2 separate regions of the Homo sapiens genome follow, and region 2 is linked to region 1. Evidence: promoter capture Hi-C in 16 types of primary human blood cells and fetal thymus (Javierre and others, 2016). All regions are on one chromosome and are shown on one strand. The core of a region is centred on a gene start or on the middle of the fragment in contact, and the rest is flanking DNA. Distances in the headings are between cores, read along the strand shown.

What was found. The method cuts DNA at HindIII sites, captures the fragments that hold promoters and counts their contacts. A CHiCAGO score of 5 or more calls a contact.
Region 2: a fragment that was not itself captured here is called in contact with the fragment with the promoter of COXFA4 in region 1 in 1 of 17 cell types (M0 macrophages); the score reaches 5.1 in M0 macrophages.

What each region holds. Positions count from the first base shown.
Region 1 is chr7:10,938,877-10,941,684 of GRCh38, reverse strand. COXFA4 (cytochrome c oxidase associated subunit FA4) reads left to right here and starts at 1,532. Exons shown (of 4, transcript NM_002489.4): 1 at 1,532-1,669; 2 at 2,789-2,808. The coding sequence starts at 1,628. It overlaps LOC107986767 (a long non-coding RNA gene), which reads right to left and starts at 1,429. Exons shown (of 3, transcript XR_001745091.3): 1 at 954-1,429. RefSeq lists a silencer at 1,000-1,249 and enhancers at 475-1,395, 1,280-1,549. The HindIII fragment of the contact is 7,174 bases long and covers 1-2,808 here.
Region 2 is chr7:11,315,736-11,318,581 of GRCh38, reverse strand. No RefSeq gene overlaps it. Among named protein-coding and RNA genes, the nearest start is that of PHF14, 340 kb to the right of the region's middle. The HindIII fragment of the contact is 2,721 bases long and covers 1-2,684 here.

The sequences.
Region 1 (2,808 bases), core at 283-2,782:
ACATAGGCACTTATACATCATTCTCTACGGCTTATTTCAATAACTGGCATCAACAACCACAGAGCTGCTCAAAACTGAACCTCTGAAATTATTCTTAACTTCTCTCTCCTCACTCCTGGAGAGCCAACCACCAAGTCCTGTTGGTGCCACCTTCTAAACATCTCTGGAATCTTTTTTTCTCATCATTACATTCTCTACACTAGTTCAAGCTACCATTATCTGTCACACAGATTATGGACTATTGCAATGGCCCCTTGATAGGTCTTTCCCCTCTCACGCTTATCCCTTCTAATCAATTATTCACAAAGCAATCATTTAAAAACACAACCTTCCCAAGCTCTCAACATAAAACCCATGATGTTTAAGCGGTTATTGGCCCAGCAGATCTGATCCCCACCTTGCTCTCCCTTTTACTTTCCAGCCACACTAGACCTCATACAGCTCCCTCGGGTTTTCAATAGCTTCAGACCTTCACGTGTTATTACCTCCGCCCTGTACACCTGCATCCTCCGTTTTCACCTGGTTAATGTCCGCTCCTCCTTCAGAGCTAGTGTAACTTCCGGTGGAGCCTTCTCCTATGATTTCTAGTCCCAATTATTAATACTTGCTTGATCATTTGATTAATGCTTTAAGCTACGTATGAGATTGGAGAGGGTTCAGAGTGTACATTTTATCCCAATCCCCCCACCCTCCCCCGCAAAGCCTGTCCTATGGAAGTCCTTCGGGTAAAAAAAACAACGAAGAAAACAAAACAAAAGACAAATGAAAATTCGACTGGGGTAGTGGGAAAGATTATCTGTAGCTACACGACCATTGAAAACACATTTTAAAGATGCAATTTGGGACCAGGGACGGGGGATAGTGGCGTGTTGGAAAGGTCTTTGTGGCGACGAACTTTCAACCGAGGGCCAGGATCTGAGGGTTCAGAAATACACTGCCAGGACTATTATCACCTTTAAGTCATTTACTAGTTTTTAACTTCTGCTTGTCTGCGACAGCGTAACACAGGAAGCAGCTGCAGTCTTCTCAAACCGCAGCCGCTGACCTTAGCGGCAAGAGGCCCGACCTGCCCTCCAGGCGCCCGGCGCTCGGCTCCCAGAGGCGCCGCGCAGCTCCCTCAGCGGCAGTCACAGCTGGCCAGCGCGCACCCGGCACGCGCGCCCCCAGGGCCTCTGCGCGCGGACCCGGCTCTCAGGCGCCGCGGGAGAGGCCCCCTACTCACGGAGCGCGCGGCCCGTGCGCCCACGCTCCGACCGCATTCCTCAGTACGTGGCACCCTTGGAAAGTGCCTGTCTGGTCAATCGAAGAGTCCTCGTTTCGACCAAAAAAATTCCCCTCAGAAATATGCATGGCACGGCAATGAAGGCATTTCACTATGAAGTGGAATGATGATGGTCCGACCAGGTCAGGACGAACATATGAGGGGTTAGATCTAAGCAGGCACTATTAAAGACAGTCGCATCCGGGCCCTCCTGCCGCAAGCTGCCCTCCCAGCCAAGGGTCCTTCAGGTAGGAGGTCCTGGGTGACTTTGGAAGTCCGTAGTGTCTCATTGCAGATAATTTTTAGCTTAGGGCCTGGTGGCTAGGTCGGTTCTCTCCTTTCCAGTCGGAGACCTCTGCCGCAAACATGCTCCGCCAGATCATCGGTCAGGCCAAGAAGCATCCGAGCGTAAGTTCGTGACCGCTCTCCTAATGTTTTCCCTTGTCCTTCTTGCGTCGGGGTGCGCCTCTTTCTGTTCCCTGGGAACGTCCTCATTTACAGCCACTTACCGTCCGTCAGACCAGACCCTGCCTCGCCTAGTGTTTGTCATCTTAGTTGTCCCAGGCCTCTGTGACCCTCTACGCCATGCATTGTGGGGTTTTGTCTGACAGGAGGAAGGAGACGGACACTGCTCGGAAAAAAAACCTAGTTTTTTCTAGTTAGTGAATATTGGAACAGTCTGGTGGCCGCTCTCTTTTGCAGGTTGTGCGGTCCAGGAGGGATAGATGTGCGCTGTGTGGGTCAGAGACTAGCATAGGTCAGGTTCCCTATGTGTTATACCATCTCTGGAGGTTCTTGTATTCGCCGCATTGCACCACCAGGCCTTTTGGTAAATAAGAGGGGTCCGTGATCTTGGAATCCTCACTTTGTCTGGACGTCGTTGCTTTTGGGAAAATTTCGAAGTGTGGAAATTGCAGTTAAGTTCTTTGGCATCTCATTTTTCCTCAGCACATCAATGTGCTGTAGAGCTAAAAGTCTATGCAATCTTTAATCTGTCTTAAATCCGGTTCCCTAAATACGCAGCAAGCATTGGTAGCATTACGTTTTCAGAGATAATGCTTAAAGCCAGTATTTGTAATAGATACGTTTACTTATTCAGATTCTATTTTTCATACATCTTTATAGAGGCACCCTTAAATAATTTGCAAAGAATTTGTTTTTCAAGCCCCAGGATAAAGGAAGCCAGAAAATTTAATGGGAATGACATGTAAATATTAGAGAGGTGAAGAAGACTCGATACATTTTCTTGGAAATTTAAAAATGTACCTATAATTTGCTCCACATTAAAAAGTAAGACACTTAAACCAGAGTCATCTTAACATCCTTTCCAAATTCCATTTCTTTCTTTAGAACACAGTTATAAGAAATCTTACCTCAATGTAAGATCTACTTTATTTAAATTTTAAGACAAAACAGTCCAATAACAGTTTGAGACTTGGAAATCAATGTGCAGAAACTACTGTAATCTCTCGTTGGCCAGTGTTTTAAGTATTTGAAGATGGTTATTCTATTTTGTGTTTGGTTTAGTTGATCCCCCTCTTTGTATT
Region 2 (2,846 bases), core at 75-2,574, 380 kb before region 1:
TGGGAAAATCTTAGCATTGTTTCTCAAATATGTAATTTGTTTCTCCCTTGGTTTAGAGGATGTGCACAGCCAGCTCTGACTCCACAGGATCAAGTTAATGATGTAAAGCAGAGGTAAGCAAACTTGTTCTAGAAAGGGACAGATACTAAATATTTTAGGCTTTAAAGTCCATATAGTCTCTTACAAAAGCAGACACAGAAAACACATAAACAAATGGGCATGACTATGCCCCGGTAAAACTTTATTTACAAAACAAGTGGTAGACCTGATGTGGCCTGCAAGGTGTAGTTTGCTGACCCTGGTGTAAACCAAGAAGCCTTTTGCTGCCACTTCACAAAGAATCCAATTGCACCACAGTTAATAATCTCTTCAAAATGTGAACAATTTCATTAATGGATAAAATATTCAACTATCCAGTAGCTGTCCTCAAAAATTTTTTCGCTCACTTAAGAATATTAGCTTTGTTATTTCCAGAAAAAAATCAGATCACCAAATTACTGTCAAATGATCATATCTTTAATATTTTTCATCTCACAAATCAGTTTGTATCTCACTCTGAAACTTCCACACCCCCAAAAATGAAACTGAAAAGCCAAGACCTGAAAACCTATTGTGAAAGTCCATCAGTTTAAAAAAGAACACTAAGTAGAACTAAAGAAAATCTATTTGTTCAAATACAATCACATAACTAAACCAAAAAGTAGCCTCCTGGAGATAACCTTATGTTAAAAGAGTTTCATGTTTTCTTGAGAGCCTTTCATGCTAAAATTTCTAAAAGCCCACTGGTTGCACACAGTGGCAAAATGCTACAGTGATTTAACAACCCCAGGCAAAATTAAATAACAAAGCTAAGATATGATGGAGTACATTTCTTATCCAGTCGTAAAGTAATCTGCAATTTCACAAGTTAGAATTTGGTCAGGACCCAGATGTTAATTTCAGTACCAGGCAGAGTGTACTCAAGGTTTAACTTATATCAAACAGAGACGAGGTTTCCAGGACCAGCCATTGAACCCCATGTTGGAATGCAGTAGCTTTTCCTAAAGCAAAATAGCACACTACCAACATCATTGTTCAGCAGCACCATAGGTATCTCTGTGGGAATTTTTTAACAAATTACTGACAAGGGTTGGCCCTATTTAATCCATAATCGTGAATGCCATCAGCGCCTATGGTTAGAGGGCTATAAAGCCAAAGAGTAGCACACACTTTGGTCTTGTTCAGACTAAATTACTACAGAAAAAGGGTCAAATACCAAAGTAACCACGACTGCATCTTTAGATTGCCCTCTCAAAATTGTTATTTGTTTGTTCTGAGGATTTAATGGAAAAATAAGCAATTCCTTTATAGTTGGAAATTAATTTTTTTCTGGTAAACAGATGTTTAACTATCCCATTAAATGTGGATTTATTTCTTCTTTTTTTTTAATCAACACCCACACTTTCTATCAAAGGGTACAAAATTTTTCTGGCATCTTCTTTAGATATTCTACAAACATAATTGTTTGATTATATATAGATAGATACTGATATCAAGCAACTTACGGCTAGAGAGTACAATTTACACAGATTTGAACAGATGCATACATTTCGAACTTAAAAACCACTGACCAAACACTGAAGCATTTTGGTGGTGGTGAGCAAATGCAGCAGTTACATGTGTATTCAGACAGAAGCGTGGGGTCAAGGTTCCTACTGACCTCCATTTTATCACAAAAGTTCTCCAAGAGATAGAGTTGTAGAAAGGAAGTCCAAGTCCAAGACAAAAAAAAAATAAAGACAGATGAAATAGAGATAAAAGTTCAATTTAAAACATTATATACCATTTAAATGAATGGGAATTGGAATAAAGTTTCCCAAAAGGTACACAGAAGGAATAATCTGAATATGAAAAGTTACCACCGTCCTAAAGAGACACAATTGAGGTCACATTAAGGCTACTGGTTAAGTAATGGGTAAAAATCAAAAGAAAAGCCTCTAATCTGTCATTCATAGTGCTTTGCAAAGGATGGCATGTATATTGATTTAATCCTGATAACAACCCTGTGAAGTAGATGTATTATCCCAATTCCCCATAAGGAAGTCCAGGAGGGATGGTGCCTCATCCAAGTCAGTTTAGCTAGTAACCGGTAGAAAGAAAAACAAACTCAGGTCTTTTAGCTGTCTGTCTAGTGTTATTTTCATGCTACCACAGCACTTGTTTTTATGAAGGACAAAGCAGCAAAATGTCACAGTACGTGCACCCGTGGACTGAAGGGTATAACATGTTCCAAGTCAGGTTGAAATATTTCACCTCCATACTCTGTATTTCTTCGGTCTTGCCAGTCACTGGCTGGCTATGGGATCACATTAGTGGTGATGACCCAAATTTCACTGGTCTTGCCCCTACCTATATTGCACACACTTTCAGACTTTTGCAAACCTCTCCAAGAGCTTCCAGGAGATCCGGAAGTATCTCGTGAGTTATTTTCTCACAGTGTCTTAGCTTTTCAGTGACACCCACTGCTTCCAAAACACTCGAAGACTGTGCCTCTCAGTGCCACTGCTACAGCCACAGGAGAATACCCTTGTTTGATCAAGACCTTCTTAAGGTTCCCTTCAGCTTGACTAAACTTTTGACAGGCTTCTTCCTGAATGTATAAGCCCCTGACCTCCCCTTTTTTAGAACATTTACTTTACAAAGCTTACAGATGCAAATTTTTACTCTTTCACTTTGAGATGTCAATCTTCTAGTCTCTTGCTTCACAGTCCAGTGATGTCTGTCTCAAGGACCTGAGAGCCATCTCTTTGAAATGCAATCATCAAGAAAGATAGCACTCTTTTCTCCCAGTCTCTGTGGGAGGGTAG